Linked DNA regions of Homo sapiens: all the other regions are linked to region 5. The links are contacts of gene promoters, found by promoter capture Hi-C in blood cells and fetal thymus (Javierre and others, 2016). All regions are on one chromosome and are shown on one strand. The core of a region is centred on a gene start or on the middle of the fragment in contact, and the rest is flanking DNA. Distances in the headings are between cores, read along the strand shown.

Region 1 (3,146 bases), core at 387-2,886, 520 kb before region 5:
GTTGTTCTTGAACTCGTGACCTCAAGTGATCAGCCCACCTCAGCCTCCCAAAGTGCTGGGATTACAGACGTGAGCCACCGCGCCCAGCCCGACCTCCCCCTTTTTTACATAATTATTAACTAAAGTGCATACTTCATTCCTTAAGGTGTTTTTGTTGTTGTTTTTTCTGACATCTTTTTTCTCTTCTTGCAGTGGGAAGTTTCTCAGACTTTCCTTATTTTTGCTGACATGGATAGTTTTTAGGAATACTGGTCAGGTATTTTGTACAGCATGCCTCAGCTGGGATTTGGCTACTGTTTCCATATGATTACTGGGGCCAAATTTTTGGGAGGACAAACAGATAAGGTGTAATTTTCAATATATCATATTAAGGGCACATACTAGAAACCTGTTAATCTTGATACTCTTGATAACCTATGTGAATGCTGTCACAATCAAAACGGAGTCGCTACTACTTAAAAACAAAAAACAAAAAAACCTTAGCAAAGAGAGACCGGGGAGACCTTAAAAAGAGGGTTCTCACACTTGTATACCTGGTAGCAAAAGAGACTCTGGAAAAACCACAACCTTACACAAATGCTATCGCAACGTTAAACAAAAAATAGTTCTGCGGGGACAGCTGCCCAGCAACTGCCTGCCCAACCCTGGACTGGCGTTATGGCATTATCCTTGTTACTGATCTTTGTAGCCAAAGATAATTTTTTTGAAACAACTGTGTAATCTTTCTCATTTTCTTCTTTTAAAAAACCTTTGTCTTCCTTTACCTCCCTGAACACACACATAGTTAACTATGGCATTTGTACGTATTCCCACTGCAGTGTTCTATTCCCAAATTGATAACATTTTCTTTTGGAGAGCCACTCTGTTATATAGTTCAACACCTAATAAATGTTAATCTTGAATTAAAATTAGATATTAAAGAGTTCTGTTTTCTTAAGCATGAGGCCTTCCCTTTTTCCACTGTTAGGCCCTTAAATCTGATTGTATTCGTTCTACTTACTGGCTGTAAAACAAAACATGTGTATTGAGGAGCAATGAGTGACCAGATCACATATAAGGGGGTCAAATGTATTGGATTGTTAAGTTTGGCTCTTGAGGGTGGGGAGGCAGGGGATAGTCCTCAGTTTGTGTGTGTGTGTGGAAGGGGGTTCGAATGTGTATGTTAAAATATATAAATAAATTTTACCATTTTAACAATTTTTAAGTGTATGCTTCCACAGCATCAAGTGCATTCATATTGTAGTGCAATCACCACCACCCATCCAGAACTTTTTTATCTTCCCAAACTGAAACTCCATATCCCTGAAATGAAAACTCGTCATCCTCCTGCCCCCCACCCCTGGCAACCACTCTTCTACTTTCTGTCTCTATGAATTTCATTACTCTAGGACCTCATATAAGTGAACTCATATAATGTTTTGTCCTTTTGTGTCTGGCTTATTTCACTGAGCATAGTGTTTTTAAAGTTCAGCACTGTCATAACATGTGTCAGAATTTCTTTCCTTTTTAAAAAAGAATAATATTCCATTGTATATATATACCATATTTGTTTATCCATTCATCCATTGATGAACATTTGGTTTTTTTCCAACTTTTGCATATTGGGAATAATGCTCTTATGAACATGGGTGTACAAATATCTGTTCAAGTTCCTGTGTTCAATTGTTTTGGGGATATACCCAGAAGTGAAATTGCAGAGTCATATAGTAATTTTATATTTAATTTTTTTTTTTTTGGAGGAACCATCATGCCATTTCCCACAGTGGCTGCACTCTTATGTTCCCACCAGGAATGTACAAGGGTTCCAGTTTCTCCACATCCTTACTAATACTTGTTACTTTCTTTTGCTATCTTTTTTGTTTGCTTATTTACATTATAGCTAACCAATTGGGTGAGAAGTGTTTTCTCCCTGTGGTTTTTGATGTGCATTTCCTTAATGATTAGTGATACCGAAGATGCTTTTTAATTTTTTTAATAATGGCTGAACTAGTGGGTGAGAAGTGCTTTCTCATTGTGGTTTTGATTTGCATTTCCCTGAAAATTAGTAATATTGAACATGCTTTCTTAAAAATTTCAACTTTTATTTTGTATTCAGGCCATACACATGCAGGTTTGTTACAAGGGTATATTGTGTGATGCTGAGGTTTGAGGTACGATTGAACCTGTCACCCAGTAAGCATAGTACCCAGTAGATAGTTTTTCAACCCTTGCCCCCCTCCCTTCCTCCTCAGTATTTATAATCCCCATCCTCTATTGATCCCATCTTTATGTCCATGTGTACCCAATGTTTAGCTCCCACTCATAAATGAGAATGTGCGGTATTTGGTTTTCTATTTCTGCTTTAATTCGCTTAGGATAATGGCCTCCAGCTGCATGCGTGTTGCTGCAAAGGACAAGATTTTATTCCTTTTTATGGCTGTGTAACATTCCATGGTGTATATGTACCACACTGTCTTTATCCAGCCCACCACTGATGGGCACCTGGGTTGATTCCATTTCGTTGCCATTGTGAATAATGTTGCAATGAACATGCTAGTGCATATATTGAACATACTTCCATGTGTGTGTTTATGTCCTCAGGATTGTTTTCTGATTTTTAAAAATTTGTATAAATTTAAGGCGTGCAAGTGAAATTTTGTTAGATGGATATATTGTGTAGTGATGAAGTCTGAGCTTTCAGTGTATCTGTCACCCGAATAACATACATTGTACCCACTAAGCAATTTCTCATCACCCACCCACTTGTGTCTTCAGTTTTTAAAGATGCTTTACAATTGTCCATGGTTTATCTTCTTACTCTACTACAAGTGTCACTATTTTATTCCTTGCCAGTATCACATAAAGACGTAGAGTGAGGGCACAGGTCTTTTGGACCTGCCCTTTAGGTGCAGGGTGGTACGGCCTTACTCCATAGCTCTACAAATAGTAGCAATCATGAGCCTCATCTGAGGCTGCTGGTCTACTTAGAAACGGCCTTCTAACCATTCTCCCTGACTCCAGTCCATCCCCTTTCTTGTCACAGGTTACTAGCTTCATAGATTAAAAACAAGTTTCTATTCCCAGGGAAAAAGACCCAAATTCTTGGGCCCCACCGTGCTTCCTGCACTCAGCTTCAATAGTTCTGATTTTCAACCAGTTTCTCCAGC
Region 2 (3,339 bases), core at 407-2,906, 600 kb before region 5:
ATGATATTAAGGAAAATTATTTATACATGCTTTTTTTTTTCTTTTTTAGAGACAGAGTCTCACTCTGTCGCACAGGCTGGAGTGCCGTGGCACAATCATAGCTTGCTGTAACCTCAAACTCCTAGGTTCAAGCAATCTTCCCACCTCAGCCTCCCAACTAGCTGGGACTACAGGCACAGGCCCTCATGCTTGGCTTATTTTTTCATTTTTTTTTTTTTTTGTAGAGATGAAGTATCACTATATTGCCCACTCTGCTCTCCAACTCCTGGCCTCAAGGGATCCTCCCACCTCAGCCTCCCAAAGTACTGGGATTACAGGCTTAAGCCACTGCCCCTGGCCCTTACAAACACTTTAAATCTTATGTCCTCTTCCTCCTGAAATGCATAACAATAAAATACCTCACATTAAATATTATATTGCAGAGAGACTACCTCACCTCACCTCACATACCTTACTGGACATCTTTAGTGTGTCAATCTCTTCTCTCTGTTTAGATAATGTCTCATTCATGCTGCACAGGTGGTCACTCATCATACTTAACTGATCCTCGTAACTCCTCTTGGTAGTTGTCAGCTCATCCTAAATAGCAAAGAAAAAGACAAAAATCAACATCCCACGAGTCGTACCACTCTGAAGCTTTTTTAATTCACAAAAGAAAAATGTGGAGTAGGGAAATTATAGTTTCCCAATAATTTACTGTATATTTCAAAATAGCTACAAAAGAAGAATTATTATGTTCCCAACACAAAGATAAATGTTTGAGGTGGTGGACCTCCAAATGACCCTGATTTGATCATTACACACTGTACAAAGGTATCAAAATAATCAAAATACCATGTCCCCCCCAAACATGTACAACTATTTACATCAATTTTTTAAAAAAATTCTTTTACTTGTAAAAGCAACCTATAAAGATGGTCTATCTGATCAATTGACATGCAGCTTAAGGCCCAGGCCTAACAAGAGAACAAAGTTAAAAGAAATGGCAACAAGTTTTTCTCAGCCTCCAAAGTAGATTCATAATTTCTTTGCAAAAATTTAAGGGTTTCTTTCTATGCCAGGTATAAAATTGTAAGAAAAGCCATATGGCCTCATTATCTTTCCAAATTCCCTCAGGTTTTGCTGAGCCATAGGTGAGGCCTACAACACATTGCCTCCATCCTATGCCTCGATGGCCTACAGCCCTCCCGGCAGCACCGTCCCTGAAAGAAGCACCCTTCATCTCTCTTCCCATTTCTCATGCTCTCTTCTGCTGCCTAAAATCTAATCCTGTGTGCCTAATTAATCTGATAAATGAATCTAAAGCAAAGAGGAAGTGGGTGTTGCTGTAGTGCTGTGTTTTTTCCTTGCCTGGCATCATGTTTTTATTAGCAGAGGCTTTCTGAAAACAAAGATTTAAAACCAGGCAGTGAGTAAGAAGGAATGTTATAGCCCCACCTTTCAGTTTAGATCCGTTTTATGCAACAGGAAAGAAAAGGAACAGAGTACTATGTACAGAACAAGCCTACAGCTCACCATGATGGGTATGTACAAGGAAGGGGAAAGAAAAATTCTGGGTAAATAAGTATTATTTAAGCAAAAGCCGACTATAAAATGATTTACAATTAGAATCAAGTCAGAGAAACAATACAACTACTTTTTGCCTAACATAAGTAAGATGTTATTTTTAAATGAATCAGAAATACAGTGGTTATCTTAAAAAGCATATCTAGAGATCAAATGCCTTTGGAAAAGAAATGCTGCTTTGCTACCAAAGAACTTTCAATGAAAAAACATTAAAACCATTCAGGTAACACTTAACTCACCTGAAGTCTGCTGATGTTCTGACTGGCAAGTTTCATTTCTTCTGTCAATGCTTCCTTAGACTTTTCAGCCAAGGCCAGTCTTTTAGACAGTGCTCGGCACTGTAAAATCAGAAAACATTCCATTACTAGAGGGAGCACTTTCTAAAACCAAATTTGCTTCGGGAAAGTTTGTTAAAAACACTTCTCAAAGCCAAAGCTACTCATTCATTCCACAAATAATCTGTTGAATACCTATAGGCATTGTGTCACACATCAGAGTACACCTAAGAAAGAAGTGGCCCCCAGCTTTGTCATTTCAGTAAGGGGAAAAAAGTCTACCAACTTAAGATCAATGTTTTTTTCTTCACTCTAGCCTGATGACCAGTGGTTATATATAATACATAAGAACTTTCTTTTTTTTTCTTTTTTTGAGACGGAGTCTTGCTCTGTTGCCCAGGCTGGGGTGCAGTGGCATGATCTTGGCTCACTGCAACCTCCACCTCCCGGGTTCAAGTGATCCTCCTGCCTCAGCTTCCCGAGTAGCTGGGATTACAGGCATGCACCACCACACCCAGCTAAGTTTTGTATTTTTAGTAGAGACGGGTTTCACTATGTTGTCCAGGCTGGTCTCAAACCCCTGACCTCAAGTGATCTGCCCACCTCAGCCTCCCAAAGTGCTGGGATTACAGGTGTGAGCCACAGCACCCGTTCTTTACATAAGAACTTTCTAGATTTATCTAGAATTCATTTATATTTATACTAGATAAAAAGAAAAGTGATTATTACAAAAGTTATCAGGAGCTTCTGACCACGCACTATGGATCCTAAGGTACTTTTCTTGTGTTTTAAGTCCTTCATTAGAGACCACATTATAGGAGCAATAAAAGCTTTACCATCCTACCCTACAGATTATGCGCTACTTACAAGGGAAAAAATGAGCACAAGATTGCAAAAATTCCAGGCTGCTTTCTTTAGGGGTTCTACCAATCCTACTCTATCCAGAGAGTGTGTAGATCAAAACGATAAAAGAAAAATCCTATTTCACAATATTGTTCAAAGAGGGTATGAAATTAAAAGGCTCACTAAACTTTCTGATAAGGTTACTGACAAGGAGAATCTGTTGAAACACATGCAAATGCTATGTCAACATAAGGCGCTCAGAGCAGTAAAGTCATGTGGGAGGGGGGAGGTCACCACTTCCTGTTTACCAATAAGGAAAAAGTAGGACAATTTAAAAATTCTTGAATCACAATTGCACAGAAGATATTTACTAAAATAACTAAATGTCTTGGAAATCAAACAGCCTAAAAAAAATTCCTCAGCTACTTATTTCATTTCTCACAAAATTTTAGGGCAGTTCAGCCAACCAAGTCAACCGCCTCCTATTAACCAAACATCTATTCTGTGCTCAGCAATGAACCTGACAAAGAGGAATATAGGCATGCAAGGCACAGGTCCTTGTGAAAAGGACAATCAAGTCTGAGACACTAACTCAGAACCAAACAATGAGGATCCATGCCTGCTGGACTGCCGGCTTAGTGATTCAGCATTTCCA
Region 3 (3,118 bases), core at 522-3,021, 550 kb before region 5:
ATTTTAAAATTTATGTATCTCCAAATTAGATCGCATAACCTCTATTTTATTCAAAATGTACCATTAAAAGATTGGCATGGTGATTATCAGTTTTCCTTCCTGGGACTATCAGAGGCCCCTTCTGTTTAGAGTAGTTTCAAACACAAAGTCTCCAGTCTTCAGTGCAAGAGCTCCAGAACACGATCTGCCACAGCCCCAAACCCTTGCAGGCTGAGAACTAATACACAGGCCACTCTATCAAGAATGCTTAGGGCCCCGGAGATCCCAGAATTGAAAAGGACCCTGTAGATTACTCCCATTTTCTCCTTTTAAATGTAAGACAATTAAAACAGAGGAGCTGCTACAACCAAAACCCATGTCTTCTGAGTCTTGCTTCAGAACCCTCTTGGAATTCAAGTTTCCACATACCATTCTTCCGTTCGAAGTCGACATTCCTTGGCTTCCTTTTCTAGAGTCTGAGATTTCACCTGAATTTCAGAAGAAAAAGAAACACAGATGGCTCAGGCTACGACAGATAGGAGCACACTTAGTAAGACCCTGCAGGCAAAAGTCTCACCAGAAATGACTAACTCTAAGTGGATAGACAATTTATTAATACAAAAGCTGTAACTATTTTTTAGTGTGCTCTCACAATGGGGCTTACTTCTAGTTTAGCCTTGTCGTTCTGCAGCTTCTCAATGGTTTCCATGTACTTCCGGGTGAGACCGTCAACCACAGCTTGGTGCTGGGCTGCTTCTGTCTCCAGAGTGGCCAGTCGACTCCTCAGCTCTGCTTCCACATGCTTGTGCTGCTCATCAGCTTCAAAAAACTAAAAAGAGAAGACCATTTTCTCTTCTCACAATATCCTAATATACATAAATGAGAAAAATAACAGCAGTGACTATTCACTGAGCAACTTCCACATGGTTCCATATGCTGACTATGTTAAACCCACACAGGCATTATCTCATTAAATCCTCACAGGATATCAGAAGTAGCTACTGTTATTCCTCTTTACAAATATGGAAACTCAAGCTTAAAAGAGTTAATAACTAGTCTAATGTCTCACAGCTAAAATATAGTAGAACTGAGATTTGAACACAGGAAACCTACTCCAAAGCCTGCACCTCCTACCTCTCAGTCTCATGAATTTCTGTTTTAAACAATGTCTGGCATACATAGAATTCAATTGATCAGAGTATAACTTTTCTACTAAGCTAACTTTCACATAAAATAATCAAAATTAAAACAGGTGTTATTCTTAAAACAGGTAAAGCTCTTTCCTGTAATTAGAGTCCAATACTAATAAAGAATTGTGAATACTTAGATATAAAATACACTGTGGTCAAAAACAACTTTTTCAAAGACTGAAAAGCGTGTCTGTTTGTGTGTGTGTGTGTGTGTTTCCTACCATTTGACCAAAAAAAAATAAGTAAGGAGGTTATAGTTGGATACACTATACTATGAATCTTTTTTTTTTTTTTTTTTTTTGAGACAGAGTCTCACTCTGTCGCCCAGGCTAGAGTGCTGTGGCTTGATCTCGGCTCACTGCAAGCTCCGCCTCCCGGGTTCACGCCATTCTCCTGCCTCAGCCTCCCAAGTAGCTGGGACTACAGGTGTCTACCACCACGCCTGGCTAATTTTTTGTATTTTTACTAGAGAAGGGGTTTCACCGTGTTAGCCAGGATGGTCTCGATCTCCTGACCTCGTGATCCGCCCACCTTGGCCTCCCAAAGTGCTGGGATTACAGGCATGAGACACTGCGCCCAGCCCACTATGAATCTTAGAATATGCTCAGTGGTTTGGGGGCAGGCACTAACTTTTCAACATTCCATAAATATCTGAGTGCCTGACATAAGTAAGACACTGTCCTGGGACTAGGCATAGGAAACATACATGGTTCATACCCTCAGAGACCTTACAGTTTAACAGGGGTAGGGATAAGAACCAACTAAACATCAGTAAATTAAAAAACTAAACATCAGTTAAAAAAAAAAAAAAAAGGGAGGGGGAGGGAAAAAAGCAAATACCATTTATTGGTAAGCTCCCATTTAAATGATACATGTAATCACTTCCCATATAAAATGAATAATGCTCAGTATATTTCTGCACTGTTAAGTTATAAAGCTATTCTGCTGTCTTCTGAACAAATGCATATACTTCAAAGCACACATCCACATTAAGACTGTGTGATATTTAAGAAATGAATAAGTGACAGTGACATATATACTTGAAGACCATAGAAGACATTAAAATACCCACGCAGACACAAAACACTCTATGTGCATTAGCTTTTCCACATTAACAGATCACAGACCCATTTTTTAATTCACATAGAAAAACAGATTTTCTCACTTGTATATGCAACCGTTCATTCTCTTCTATCTTCTTTTGCAGATCTTCATCAAAGACACTCTTCTGCTCTTGACTCAACTGAGAAGAAGATTCTCCACTTTTCTGATGGAAAGAATAAGTTATGTCCACATAACTTTCATCCTTTAGAGAAACATCCTAAGGTACACAGATTCTCTATCATCTTAGAAGCTTGTCTCTTCTATGTGTTCACCATTCTCAAACAATCCTGCAAAAGCTATACAGTTCATCATTTAACTTTTCCTATGTGACACAAGTTGAAACTGCAAATATTGTAAGGAGCAGGAAAGCTTTAAAAAGAGAGAGAAAAGAACAGATAAGGCTTACTATTCTTTGCAGATGAATTCAGGAGTAGTTCTGCTGGAGGACGGAGCAGACCTAGAAAGCTCCAGCAATATAAAATAAGCTCATAAATATCATTTCAATTTGATCTTTTGGTTTGGGAAATGAGAGTTATAGCAATTTCATGAGTCGGAGTTGTTAAACTCCATAAGAAATTGTAATAAATTCTGTAACAGCATCCACAAAGGTAAGTTTATACAAAAGTTCATATAAATTTCTAAGTTAAAAAATATATAAAATAAAGCTATTATAAATAAATAGGAAAATTCTCAAAGATTATTTTAAAATCCCTTCCTTTAAATTTTTACTAATATGAACTCGTTCTACATAGAAGAATAGCACTATTTAAAACATCTAATAATGAGTATTTGTTTTCATGTAATACATAGAACTGAGACTATTCAAGGAACAGCCTAACAATGAA
Region 4 (3,298 bases), core at 348-2,847, 570 kb before region 5:
AATCATCCAGGCACCTGGACTATTTCCAATAGTCCTTAATAGATTGCTCCTGCCCGTCTCCTCCTTCCCCTGCTTTCCCTACCCCAACAGTCTCTAAAAGGAAAAGAAAGGGAAAAAAAACCTAGAAGCAATTGCAAAGTTGTAGATTAGTCAGGACTCAGAATCACACGCTAAGAAGCATATGAAATAAAAGGTTCCCCTCGGCCTTTCAGCAGACTACATTTTTAGGAGCACAGAAGCAATTGAAAACTGACCAAAATGCAAAACCAGACTTTCATTTCTTAAGGCTATGCCCAACAAGACAGGACTTTAAAAGGCATTTAAAATATTAAAATGCACAGGATGGTGGAAAGTTAGTGTATTCCTTCTGGGGACTTGAAGCCTTGGTTTCCTCAATTCCTTTGTGCTTGGGCTCTAAGAAGCGCAACGTATTTTGCAAAAGGCCTCTGAATAGCATGTCTGGTTTTGTACAATTCACACACCTGCCTAAAGTCAGTGTAACGTATTTCTGGCTAAAGTACTGTACACAAGGACTGTACACAAGGATTTCTCTTCAGCACTTTGTTTACCTCCAGAAATAAAACAGATGGGAAAAGCAGAAGGCAGTGAGCTGTGCACTCAACATAAGCCAAATGCTAATAAGCCTTTATCTGGGGTCTATTACCCTTGGCAGTGTTTGTTTAAATCTTATTCAGGCAGATCGAAGAAAGTGGGGCAAAGGTTTTAAGCTTACGTTCTTTTTCAAGGCCTACCTTTCATAACGTCATGAAATCCATGCAGAGCAGCACCAACATTTGTTAACACAGAACTGTAGTTTGTCCGAAGGAGTCCATCTGGCTCTGTACCTAGGAAATCAAAATCACAAATCTAAGCATTTTCCTGAAAAATGGACTGCCCATTGTATCCCTCTACTTTTGGGAAGATAGAGAATGAAGATTGGTTGTAATGTGCTAGAAATAATGCCTCTTAAAATCGTGGCAGATACATTCAGACATAATGGTGATACACATAAGCACATCTAAATGATTTGCATCTCCTATGTCCACAAATATTTTTTAATGGTTGAGAAACAAAATTCAGTTGTTAAGCAGGATTAAGTCTGTCATGATTCTTTGTAAAACGAAAGTCTTTGTGAATGTTTACCTTGTTATTATATAATGCATTTTTCATTCCCTACACATTATTTGCTGAACATCGCTAAAACACTCTTACCCAAATATCACAGAGTTCTGCTTCTGCCATGTCAGCGTGAGGAGCTCTGTGGACCTGCTTGCCCTCTGCAAAACTGGTAAAATTTGCAAAAAGGACAATCACTTAAAGTCTCTGGAGACGGTTCTAAGGGCAACACAGCACATGATTTACTCAAGAAAATCTGTAACAACTCAGTAATAACAGTGAGAGGCTACGGTATTTAAACCAAGAATCACTACCTCCCTCCCACAGCTCAGGGAGACAGAAATTCCATTCCCAATAGGTATAGCCAAGAACACGGGACTTCGTCTCTCCCAACTCCTAAAGAGGTCTGGATTTCTCCTCTTGCTCCCAGCTACCTGTTGCTGAAGCTAAATTCTGAGCAAGTGTGGACAGAGGCGGGGAACGTTCCCCTTCTTTCACCCAGCCCCTACTCCTAAGATGGAGGCTCTACCTTGGGCGTGGTGCTGCCAAGAAAAGTGGGGCCCTGATCACCCTTGCCCCAGCTCATCAACAGGAGTTCCACCCTGAAAGAGGCAGACCAAGGAGACCGGGGGCTGCTGCCTACCCCCTCCACTAAGGGCGCAGTTTCTAACAAGGGGGTGTCACTTAGAGAAAAGTATGACCACTGTCCCTAGCCCATAGAGATTTAGCCCAGGAGATAAGCAAGCCTTAAAACAAGAGCTCTTAATCTCTTCTTAAGGAACTGACTTAATTTGTAATACAGTGTGGAGAAGTTCAAGCCTAAGGGTGTACTCTAAAAAATTATGGCTGTGGTAAAAGCAATGAAGAAGAAATTGGTAGATTAGCGATATAAGTTAAACTGTGGGCTGCCTGGTTTACCAGAGAGAACAGGAAACAGAAATAGCTAAGAAGAGCCCTCCTGGGGTCAGAATGAAGCGCAAACACTGATCTCAAAAAACTCTACCTGCTAGGTGTACACTAGGTCTATAACTATACCCGTAAAAGAGCCCAAACTGAATTGATTCTCTGAATAGACAATTGATGCCCCACGACATTTTGAAAATGAGAGCAATCAATCAGCAATCAGCAGAGCTTAAACCTGGGTGTGATCAGTGAAAGAGACAGTGAAGGAGAGCCCTGCCACCATCGTCATCTCAGGGTGACTGTATGCATGCCCAAGGCTGAATCCTTGAGAAGCAACATCATGGCACAAAACTTACATGCTAAAAACTAGAAGATGTGTTTAAAGAAATTAAAGAGCTACATAAATGGAAAAACATACTATGTTCATGAATCAGATGACTAAGCTTAGATGGCAATACTCCCTGTATTAATTTCCTAGTGCTGCTGTAATGAAGTACCACAAACAAGGTGGCTTAACACAACAGAAATTTATTTTCTCACAGTTCTAGAGGCCAGAAGTCCAAAATCAAGGTGTTGGCAGGGTCACACTCTCCCCAAAGGCCCTAAGGGAGAATTCTTTCTTGCCTCTTCCAGCTTCTGTTGGCCCTAGGTGTTACTTGCCTGTGGCAGCATAACTCCAATCCCTGCATCTGTCTTCATATGGCCTTCCCCCTTGTATCTCTGTCTCCAGATTCTGTGTGTCTCTGTCTCGAAATCTCTCTCTCCTTATAAGGATCCCATTCATTGGATTTAGGACTCTCTTTAATCCAGTATGACCTCATCTTAATTTGATGACATCTGCAGAGATCCCATCTCCACAGGAGATCACACATACAGGTACTGACAGTTAGAATTTCACATATTATTTTGGGGGACACAATTCAACTCACAACCCTCTCCAAAATGATCTACAAGTTCAATGCAATCCCTATCAGAATCCCAACTGACTTCTTTGTAGACATCAACACAAGCTGATTCTAAAATTCATACGGGATTGCAAGGGACCTCAAATAACCAAAACAATCTTGAAAAAAAAAAAAAAAGTAGGAGGGCTCACGCTTCCTAATCTCGAAATTTGCTATAAAGCAACAATCATCAAGATATTATGGTACTGGTGTGGACAGATCAATGAAATAGACCTGAGAATCCAGAAATAAATCCATATATCTACAGTCAACTGATTCTCCACAAGGGTACCCAGACCATTCAATAAGGAAAGAATAGGCTTTTCAGCAAATGG
Region 5 (3,012 bases), core at 513-3,012:
TTAAAATTACAGAAAATAAACAAGCTACATTTTCTTTACATCTGAATTAATGTAAGTAAAACTTCCACTCTGCCACACCAAAATACAAACTCTTTATGCCCAATATTTTCCTTTTATTAGTATTTCCCATAACACCTTATATACATATTAATGCATACACGGAAGGAGCCAAAAAGTACTTGTCAAATAAAAAAGTAAATTTTTAGAAAAATCAGAAATGATGGACACACTTATATGTATAACGTAATTTTCCTGTACTTTTACTTTTCCCCTATGTTTATTTGAACAAACCTAAAATTGTACCCATTTGCACCTAGCTAACCACCATAAAAATTTGGAGTTCTCCAGCTGTTTTGTAACAGCTGTCCTCCTCAAATATTTTTTTGAGAAACAAACATAGACCTACGTTTCTCTATTTTTCTGGACTAAAGAGAGATCATCTCAAAATCACAGAACTCTTAAAAATTGAAAACAGGATCATGTAGTCTAAAATAAGTTCTTATTTAAACTTGGGAGGTGAGGGGGGCGGGGCTGACATCTAGAAAGGTGAAGTACTTTGCCTGTAGTCACACACCAAGTCTGGGACTCAACACACAGGCTCGCCTCTTTGCGTCTCTCCCTCCTTCCAAAATACATTTTCCTCCCTCTCAAAAGCTTTATCACGCTTTGTAGTTGCTTAATTATCTATGTCAAACCTAGAGAGCAACTGATGACACTCAGAGACATCGCCCAAAGTTCTGAAAACCAGATAATCAGATAAACTGCCAGTTTTACCACATCCAAAAAATGCACAACAAAAGAGAGAAGGGGGAGAATCGAGAATACATTTTCAGCCGCAAGGCAATAAAAACACGTTTCCCTTGGAGAGAGATTATGTTGGGGGCATCAGGTATAAAGGTAATTCCTGTTGAGGGTTTTTCTTTTCCTTGCAGTTTGTGGGACCTAAAAAAAAAAAATTAAAAATTAAATCACATAAACAATCACAACATCAACACATTTACTTCTCTCCTCTCACATATTATTTTCCCACACATTGTATACACTTCTTCAAAGAACAAATCAAATTGGCCAAAGGTCAAAGCCTTTTCAAGGTTTAGATGATATACGATTAGGCACCGACTCCAAACTTCGCTTACCAAGCCCAAAGCTCGGAGACGGAAATCTTCAGGGTTTGCAAATACCCTCAGCTTGGCTAAAGGGCACGAAATCTCTAGCGCTCCCTACAGCTCAGATTTTGAACCCACCTACCACAGAAAACCCGAGTTACCAAAGATTGGCTCCCTCGTTCCACTTTTTTTTCAGCTCAAAAAAATCGGGTGAAGGTTGGGGTAGGGGGGAAGCTGAAACGGCGAACCGAAGGATTAATCACTTCTCCCCATTACATCAGCAACCCCCGCCCTTTCCTCCGAGCACCTCCTCTCCCAGAATCGTCGCTACGCACTGGCGCTCTCTTCGCCCACCCCCTGCTCTATTATTTGCCCTGATACCTCCCCATTATCACCCGCCCCGCCACACTCCCCCTTTCCTCTTTCCCCCTCCTAGGCGGGGGAGGGAGGAAACCCGAGAGAGGAAACAGGGCGTTGAAGGGACTTCGCGATAAGAGCGGAGGCCCCATTGGCCGGAAGGTTGTACGGGCGCCTTAGATTGGCCGCCTGGACGGAATCCCCGCCCCTCCTTTCCCCGCCCACCCACCCCTCCCCCCGCCGCCCCGCGGCCCTCCCCCGCGCCCCCGGCCAGCCCCGCGGCGGGGAGGGACCGACTGGGCGAGTGGAGGCTCCGGCGGTGTCAATGGCTCCTCCTGCCACGGAGCAGCAGCAGAAGCAGCGGCGACAGGGCTGACGAGGAGGAGGAGGAAAGGTTCCTTTAAGGAGGAGGAAGGACGACGCCTCTTTTTCCCCCTATCTCCTCCCTTCACACTCATTTCCCCTTCGCCGAGGAGAGAAGGGGGGGAGGAGAGAGAAGAGACCGAAGAAAGAGAGAAAAATTCCTCACAGAAATCTCTTTCAGGGGGTGTGGGGGGGAGGAAGAGGGAAAAAAAAGAGCCGGGCGCCCCCTGCTCCCTCCCTCCCTTCTCTCCCTCTCTTTTTCTCCCTTCCTCACCCGCCCGCCCACTCCCCCCGCTGCCGGAGACGCCGCTCGCGAGTCGGCGGGACCGGGATCTGTCTCTTCAGCCGCCGCCGCCGCCGCCGCCGCGCTTCGCCTCGGGATCCCCAAGCGGCGGACGCCCTTTCTTTCTTTCTCTCGGTCTGCCCGTCTTTCTGCCTTCGTCCCTCGCGGCCGCCCCGCCCGGCGGCTTCGGCCTTCCCCGTGCGTCAGGCCCTCCCGGCCGGCCTCGCTCGGTCTCCGTCTGTCTACCCGGGCCTTTCTCCGGACTCGGGGTCCCGCTCGCCCCCTCCGCCCTCAGCGTCTCCCCTTCCCCTCGCCCCCTCTCCTTCCTCCCCCCTCTCCCACTCTCCCCACCCCTTTCTCCTGCCCCGAAGCTCGCTGTGCGTGTGCGTGTGTGTGTCCCTCCGCCAACGCCGCCACCTCAGCCCGGCAAATGAACTCCGTCCGAGCCGCCAACCGGAGACCCAGGCGAGTGTCGCGGCCGCGCCCGGTGCAGCAACAGCAGCAGCAGCCCCCGCAGCAGCCGCCGCCGCAGCCGCCCCAGCAGCAGCCGCCCCAGCAGCAGCCTCCGCCGCCGCCGCAGCAGCAGCAGCAGCAGCAGCCTCCGCCGCCGCCACCGCCGCCTCCGCCGCTGCCTCAGGAGCGGAACAACGTCGGCGAGCGGGGTAAGGCCGCGCTACCTCCCAACCGCCCGCCTTCCCGGGCACCGCGGGAAGGGAGGCCGGGGCGGGCGGGCGGGCGGGCGGGCGGGGGCGGCCTGCGCGCCCTGGGGGTGGGAGACCCAAGCTGAGCGGAGGCGGGTCCCCCGGTGCCGCAGTGTCAGCCCGGGCCGGGCCCGGCCGGCAGGAAAAGCCGCGGCTTCCCTTCTCGCCTGGGCTCTCGCTCAGGCCGCGCTTTGTTTGGTTT
Region 6 (3,296 bases), core at 593-3,092, 680 kb before region 5:
AGGTGGGAGGATGGCTTGAGCCTGGGAGGTAGAGGTTGCAGTGAGCTGAGACCTCGCCACTGCACTCCAGTGCTATTCATTCAGTTTCCATTTTCGAAGTATCTTTTCAAATAATGCAAAGTTTTCCGAGACAATCTTGAAAAGGATAAAATTTTAAAGAGCTTTTTAAAAACTTTATGTTCTCTAAATACACAACTGATCTAAAAGTCATATAGAAAAATAGAGATGCATTCTGGGATCCTGCTATTCTAAGCGTATTCCTTGGGCCAGATGCATTGGCGTCACATCAGCACTTGTTAGAAACACAGTATTCCAGATCCCACTTGCTCAGTCAAAATCCACATTTTAACAAGGTGATTCCTGGGCCCACAAAAGTTTGAGAAGCACTGCCTTAGGACAAAGATTTCCTCTCTGCTCCAACCTTATTATTACCCTACTTCTCAAGAGGCAAATTAGCTTATAGCCTGCCCTGGCACCCTCTCACTCTCTGCATTGCCCTCCCTACCCCCTCAACGGAGAAGCTTGGGGCAGGGCCCTGTAATCCCAGAAATGTCCTGCCCCAAGCCAGGCCCACAGCTGCACCATGCCCTCTGGACGCCACCTGACACAGCCCCACTGTGTTTTCCCTGGGCCTCCTCTTTGTGCACAGACCTGATCTCAATAAAGCAGCTGTGATCCCAAAGGATTTGTTCAGTGAATTATCACTGTGTAATTGACTGAAATGCCTGTAAAATGTTGTCCTCTGTGGGCCTGGTGATATGACGGTTTTACAAAAGAATTCCTGAAGGCCAAGATCAGGTCCAGCCAGTTTCCCTGGAAATGTCCATTCTTGTCATTGTTCTTGGTGAGCTCCACTGCTAATAAATACTCATGGGAGGCCGGACGCAGTGGCTCATGCCTATAATCCCAGCACTTTGGGAGGCCAAACTGGGCAGGTCACGAGGTCAGGAGTTTGAGACCAGCCTGGCCAATATGGCGAAACCCCATCTCTACTAAAAACACGAAAATTAGCCAGGCGTGGTGGTGCGCACCTGTAGTCCCAGCTACTTGGGAGGCTGAGGCAGAAAAATCTCTTGAACACAGGAGGTGGAGGTTGCAGTGAGCCAAGATGGTGCCATTGCACTCCAGCCTGGGTGGCAGAGCGAGACTCCGTCTCATAAATAAATAAATAAATAAATAAATACTCATGGGAGAGCAATAACAGAGGTCTGGAAGACAAAGGCATATGCAGAGCAGGGAGGAATGATCTCTGCCTAGGGGATCACGTCAGTAGTTCTCAACCCCGGCTGCATGAGCCTTTATAAACATCAACACCTGAGCCTCATCTTCATAGAGCCCGATTAGTAGGGGATGGGGCCCAAATATGGGTATGTGTTTGAAGCTTTAATGATGCTAACATGTGGCCAGGACTGGGAAACAGACTTTAAAAGGATGAGTGATGAGAAGATCCCAGGCTATCTCGGCTAATGGCACCATTGCCCACCTATCCACCACAGCCAGAGCACCTGACCTTGTCCCATTCCCTCCCTTTCCCTCATGCCCATAGAGAATCTGTCATCACTTAGGGGCACCTCCCCTGAATTCGCTCACCCATCTCTTGCCTCTCTCTCTCTGCCACTGCCTTTGCTCAGCAACCCTTACCTCCTCCCAACTTCCCTGTGTCTATAATCTACTCCTAAATCTTTCCTCTGCACTGCATGCCAGCCTTTCTGAAACAAGATATGATTCTGTAGCAGTCATGCCGAAAACAACCCCGAGGCCCTGTTGACAGATAAACTTCACACCCCACAGCATGGCCCACAAGGTCTTAATACACTGGTCTCTTCCCCGACCACTCCCTCAGCCCCAAAACTTAGGTAAGATCCCCCACCCACACACCTGTGGTTCTGCTGTTTCTTTCTTTGATGGAAACTCTATTGACTCTCCCAGCCATCAGCTCTTCAGCGAAGCCCTCCCTAGTCCCCAGGCAGTTTATTACCCTTTCCTCTGGGATCCCTAAGTGCATATGTTTGTCCAAGCCTGGAACTATGCACTTTTCCACAGTGCATTTGGGTAGCTGCTTCAGAGTCTGTCTCACCTTCTAGACTGTTAAGTTTCTGGTAGAGTAGGAATCATGTTTGTGTCTGTATCTCTTAAACACTCAGCACAGAACCTATACCTAGAAGAACTTTAGTAGATGTTTGTGGAGTAAATGAGTGAGACTCCTTCTCAATAAATTCTTGTTGATTGAATCAGTTAACTACACCAATGACTCTGAAAAAAATGCAGTATTATAAACAGGATCATTTTCACAAAAAGCTTCATACGTGTCTGCACTCCCAAAATTAGAAAAGATGATTGGTATGGGTTCTCAGTTTGAAAAATAAGTGTGGTTACCCTGGCCAGGCTTTAGCCAAGTGCTTATTTCCTTCAGGGCCTCCCGGAGCACCTGCTCTAAGTAGAGCAATAGGAATGGACTACAAAGGGAGCCTGTGCTCTTGTCCCTCTCACACCACGTGGGCAAGCCCACAGCCTGAGCCTATTGTGCTTCTCTCTCAAAAGCATAATTACCACTTCAAGTCTATGCAAAAACTGCTTTGGACCTTTTGTTCTAGTCCTCGAGACCATCTCTAGGATCAACGGAAAACAACAGGAGTTAGTTTATCACCCAGATTTCAGGGGAAACCTGCAGATCCAGGAGTTTCCAATAGGCATTCCAGCCTGCCTGACTTTCTGCCTGCCTCTCTTTCCCTTTTTGTTGAGCAAAACAAAAGCTAATACTCTGATTTTGTTTAAACCCTCTAACCTAAAACTAGCACAAGTAACTTTTAGAATAGACCATTTGGAACCTTGTATGAAGACCTTAAAACTGGTTTCTCTGGCATGATGATGCAAATGGTTCAATTTGCCTCTCTAGCCAAGTTATAAAAGAAAGCAGGGGCCAGGCACGGTGGCTCAAACCTCTAATCCCAGCACTTTGGGAGGCCGAGGCGGGTGGATCACCTGAGGTTGGGAGTTCGAGACCAGCCTGGCCAACATGGTGAAACCCCATCTCTACACAAAATATAAGAAGTTAGCCGGGTGTGGTGGTGCGGGCCTGTAATCCTAGCTACTTGGGAGGTTGAGCCACTAGAATTGCTTGAACCCAGGAGGCAGCGGTTGCAGTGAGCCAAGATTGCACCACTGCACTCCAGCCTGGGTGACAGAGCAACACTCCATCCCAAAAAAAGAAAAAAAAAGAAAGCAGGAAACATCATCTCAGTGGATTATATCATAGAAGATACTGACCTTCCCTCCCATCACAGCAGAGTTGATCA
Region 7 (3,215 bases), core at 582-3,081, 630 kb before region 5:
AATCAAGAAGGAATAGAAAGCCTAAATTCATCACTAATCATTTATGAAACTGAATCACCAAAAACTTGACCCATATGCCCTTTATAAGTGGTTCAGATGATTTCGTAATGAGTTTTACCAAATTTTAAGAAACAGATAATCTTTATCTCTTACAAACTAGTTAAGAAAAACATATATGCCAGCCAGGCACGGTGGCTCATGCCTGTAATCCCAGCACTTTGGGAGGCCGAGGAGGGGATATCATGAGAGCAGGAGTTCAAGACCATCCTGGCTAACACGGTGAAATTCCATCTCTACTAAAAATACAAAAAATTAGCTGGGCCCACGTGGTGGCGCGTGCCTGTAATCCCAGCTACTAAGGAGGCTGAGGCAGGAGAATTGCTTGAACCCGGGAGTCGGAGGTTGCAGTGAGCCAAGATCATGCCACCGCACTCTAGCCTGGGAAACAGGAAGACTCTGTCTCGAAAAAAAAAAGATAAAGAAAGACATATACTTATGATTACTTTATAGGGCCAATACAAGCTTGATACCAAACAATATAAGAACAATTTCCTTTTTTTTTCCTTTTTTTTTCTTTTTTTTTTTTTGAGATGAAGTCTTGCTCTGTCGCCCAGTCTGGAGGGCAGTGGTGCAATCTCAGCACACTGCAATCTCCACCTCCCGGGTTCAAGTGATTTTCGTGCCTCAGCCTCCCGAGTAGCTGGGATTACAGGTGCATGTCACCACGCCCAGCTAATTTTTGGCATTTTTAGTAGAGATAGGGTTTCGCCATGTTGGCCAGGCTGGTCTTGAACTCCTGACCTCAGTTGATCAGCTCGCCTCGGCCTCCCAAAGGGCTGGAATTACAGGCATGAGCCACCACACCCAGCCAGACCAATATTTTAAAAAGAAAATTCTAGAACAACTTCACTTATGAACATTTGCAAAAATCCAAAGTAAAATACTAGCAACCGATACCCTACAGAATAATATACCTGTATATGTATATTTATGTACATGTTTCAACACAATTAATACGCTCATCTTATCACAATGTAATATCAAGAAAAAATGATCATCTCATATAGTTATGAAAAAGACATTAAAGCATTAAGTAAAATATATACTGTCATGATATAATTTTTACCTTGTTAAAAAATATTAAGAATAGAGCAAAGTTCTTAGTTTAATAAAGACTATCTACTGAAACCTTAAGCAAACTTCACGCTTAATGGAGAAACTTTAAGAGCAGTTAAAGTTAAAGACAGTAAGAAGACAAGGCAAGGGTGCCTGTCATCACAGTTCTATTGAACACTGTACTGGACCATCTACCCCAATGCAGTATGGTAAGAAAAAGATGTAGGAGTCACAGAAATGGAAAAGATAAATTATCGTTGTTTTATGATTGTCTATATAGAAAATTCAAGAATTATCTATATGCAGACTATTAGAACTAATAAGAGAATCAGCTGGGATGCTGGGTAAAAAAACAAAATTCAAAAATCAGCAATGTTTCTTTCTATGGGCCAGCAAGTAAACTAGAGAATATACTAGGACAAAAGATATTGTTTAAAATATCAACCAAATCTATAAGATATAAATACAGCAAAAGTTGTAGAAGACATTTATAGGGGAAATCACCAGTAATCATTCACCTGAATAAAAGGAGAAGATAGGAAAAGCCAGCACTGTAAAGATGTCAGTATTAATTGAATGCAATTTCAAAGAGAATCTCAACAGGATTTTCTGTGTGTGTGCAACTAGACAAACTAACGTTTATATAAATTGGTCAAATCCAAGATGGCCCAGAAATTCTGAAAAAATAAAAAAGTAATAATAGCTAACAATTTTTGCGTTCTTCCTTATATAGCAGGTACTATTCTAACTTTTTTTTTTTTTTTTTTTTTTTTAAGATGGCATCTCACTCTGTCACCCAGGCTGGAGTGCAATGGCACGATCTCAGCTCACTGCAACCTCCGCCTCCCAGGTTCAAGCTATTCTCCTGCATCAACCTCCCGAGTAGCTGGGATTATAGGCACCCACCACCACACTCGGCTAATTTTTGTATTTTTAGTAAAGATGGGGTTTTACCATGTTGGCCAGGCTGGTCTCGAACTTTTAACCTCAGGTGATCTGCCCACCTTGGCCTCCCAAAGTGCTGGGATTACAAGCGTGAGCCACCACACCTGGCGTATTCTGACATTTTCATGCACTATCTCTTCACAGTATCTTTGTAATAGATACTATCATTATTTATATTTCATAGATGAGGAGACTGAGAGAACTTGGCAACTTGCCCAAGGTCACACAGCTCACTGGGTAATCACAAATCCTCACAAATTTGGTTTTTAGGTTTTTTGATTTATTTTTTGAGACAGAGTGTCGCTCTGTCACCCAGGCTGGAGTGCAGTGGCCTGATCTCAGCTCATTGGAACCTCTGCCTCCCCAGCTCAAGTGATCCTCCCATCTCAGCCTCCCAAGTAGCTGGGACCACAGGGCACACCACCATGCCCAGCTAATTTTTATATTTTTTGTAGAGGCAGGGTCTCATCCTTGTTGCCCAGGCTGTTCTCAAACTCCTGAGCTCAAGCGATCAGCCCGCCTCAGCCTCCCAAAGTGCTGGGATTACAGGCATGAACCACCGTGCCCAGCTACACAAATTTGTGTAATCACAAATGCTCACTGACTGCTGGGTAGGATAAAATTTTCTAAATCCATACCTAGACATACCTGTGGAACATTTTAGAGAAAATTTTAAAAGCTACCAGGGAGAAGGCAGATTATAATAAAATGACAATCATTTGTGATCAGACTTCTTGTCCTGACCTCAGGTGATCCCCCCACGTCGGCCTCCCAAAGTGCTGAGATTACAGGCATGAGCCACTGCGCCCAGCTGAAAGCCTTCTTCTTAAGGCATGTTTGTTATGTGATGGGCCAGGGGCTCTAAGAATGCTGATCCTTCTGGGGATCTCAAGGTACCTTCCACAAAGAGAATGGATGAGTGATCCCAGGAGCTGCTTGCCTGTGAGGGGACATGGTAGTACAGGATGTGGGCATTTTTTCCCAGAGCTCTCCCCAGAATCACTCACACTAAATATTTCCACCTCACCCAATCAGTCAAACTCACCAATGCATGGGATCACCCACATAGGCAAGCTTTCGAAAGATAATTTATTGTTGTGTGTTCATAGTAATAAGCATCCAGCAATGAGGTTTTTTTTTTCTCTTTCTTATTC

What was found. Contacts are between HindIII fragments. The CHiCAGO score rates a contact against its expected background, and 5 or more counts as called.
Region 1: a contact is called between a fragment that was not itself captured here and the fragment with the promoter of FBXO11 in region 5, in 17 of 17 cell types (total CD4 T cells, naive CD8 T cells, naive CD4 T cells and 14 more). The highest score is 32.1, in total CD4 T cells.
Region 2: a fragment that was not itself captured here is called in contact with the fragment with the promoter of FBXO11 in region 5 in 5 of 17 cell types (fetal thymus, non-activated CD4 T cells, M1 macrophages and 2 more); the score reaches 7.9 in fetal thymus.
Region 3: a fragment that was not itself captured here is called in contact with the fragment with the promoter of FBXO11 in region 5 in 15 of 17 cell types (total CD4 T cells, M2 macrophages, M0 macrophages and 12 more); the score reaches 13.1 in total CD4 T cells.
Region 4: a contact is called between a fragment that was not itself captured here and the fragment with the promoter of FBXO11 in region 5, in 9 of 17 cell types (non-activated CD4 T cells, activated CD4 T cells, M1 macrophages and 6 more). The highest score is 9.3, in non-activated CD4 T cells.
Region 6: a fragment that was not itself captured here is called in contact with the fragment with the promoter of FBXO11 in region 5 in 3 of 17 cell types (M1 macrophages, M0 macrophages and megakaryocytes); the score reaches 7.8 in M1 macrophages.
Region 7: a fragment that was not itself captured here is called in contact with the fragment with the promoter of FBXO11 in region 5 in 1 of 17 cell types (fetal thymus); the score reaches 6.4 in fetal thymus.

The regions. Positions count from the first base shown.
Region 1 is chr2:48,429,712-48,432,857 of GRCh38, reverse strand. No RefSeq gene overlaps it. Among named protein-coding and RNA genes, the nearest start is that of PPP1R21, 9.5 kb to the left of the region's middle. The HindIII fragment of the contact is 8,975 bases long and covers 1-3,146 here.
Region 2 is chr2:48,508,580-48,511,918 of GRCh38, reverse strand. It overlaps PPP1R21 (protein phosphatase 1 regulatory subunit 21), which reads right to left. Exons shown (of 22, transcript NM_001135629.3): 20 at 1,806-1,904; 21 at 451-579. Among named protein-coding and RNA genes, the nearest start is that of STON1-GTF2A1L, 20 kb to the left of the region's middle. RefSeq lists enhancers at 2,552-3,326, 3,327-3,339. The HindIII fragment of the contact is 2,035 bases long and covers 639-2,673 here.
Region 3 is chr2:48,457,444-48,460,561 of GRCh38, reverse strand. PPP1R21 (protein phosphatase 1 regulatory subunit 21) reads right to left here. Exons shown (of 22, transcript NM_001135629.3): 4 at 2,335-2,436; 5 at 644-808; 6 at 409-467. Among named protein-coding and RNA genes, the nearest start is that of PPP1R21, 18 kb to the right of the region's middle. The HindIII fragment of the contact is 1,509 bases long and covers 1,017-2,525 here.
Region 4 is chr2:48,477,471-48,480,768 of GRCh38, reverse strand. It overlaps PPP1R21 (protein phosphatase 1 regulatory subunit 21), which reads right to left. Exons shown (of 22, transcript NM_001135629.3): 13 at 753-845. Among named protein-coding and RNA genes, the nearest start is that of PPP1R21, 38 kb to the right of the region's middle. The HindIII fragment of the contact is 1,734 bases long and covers 731-2,464 here.
Region 5 is chr2:47,905,248-47,908,259 of GRCh38, reverse strand. FBXO11 (F-box protein 11) reads left to right here and starts at 1,762. Exons shown (of 23, transcript NM_001190274.2): 1 at 1,762-2,771. The coding sequence starts at 2,540. It overlaps LOC100506235 (a long non-coding RNA gene), which reads right to left and starts at 2,710. Exons shown (of 2, transcript NR_187636.1): 1 at 2,461-2,710; 2 at 93-942. RefSeq lists an enhancer at 816-1,600 and silencers at 1,670-1,769, 2,260-2,449, 2,810-2,929, 2,940-2,989. The HindIII fragment of the contact is 3,894 bases long and covers 657-3,012 here.
Region 6 is chr2:48,585,171-48,588,466 of GRCh38, reverse strand. All of the region lies in intron 2 of STON1-GTF2A1L (STON1-GTF2A1L readthrough), which reads right to left. The region is part of intron 2 of STON1 (stonin 1); the gene reads right to left. Among named protein-coding and RNA genes, the nearest start is that of GTF2A1L, 31 kb to the left of the region's middle. RefSeq lists an enhancer at 2,300-2,934. The HindIII fragment of the contact is 917 bases long and covers 1,384-2,300 here.
Region 7 is chr2:48,535,222-48,538,436 of GRCh38, reverse strand. The region is part of intron 1 of STON1-GTF2A1L (STON1-GTF2A1L readthrough); the gene reads right to left. The region is part of intron 1 of STON1 (stonin 1); the gene reads right to left. Among named protein-coding and RNA genes, the nearest start is that of STON1, 6.7 kb to the right of the region's middle. The HindIII fragment of the contact is 2,613 bases long and covers 525-3,137 here.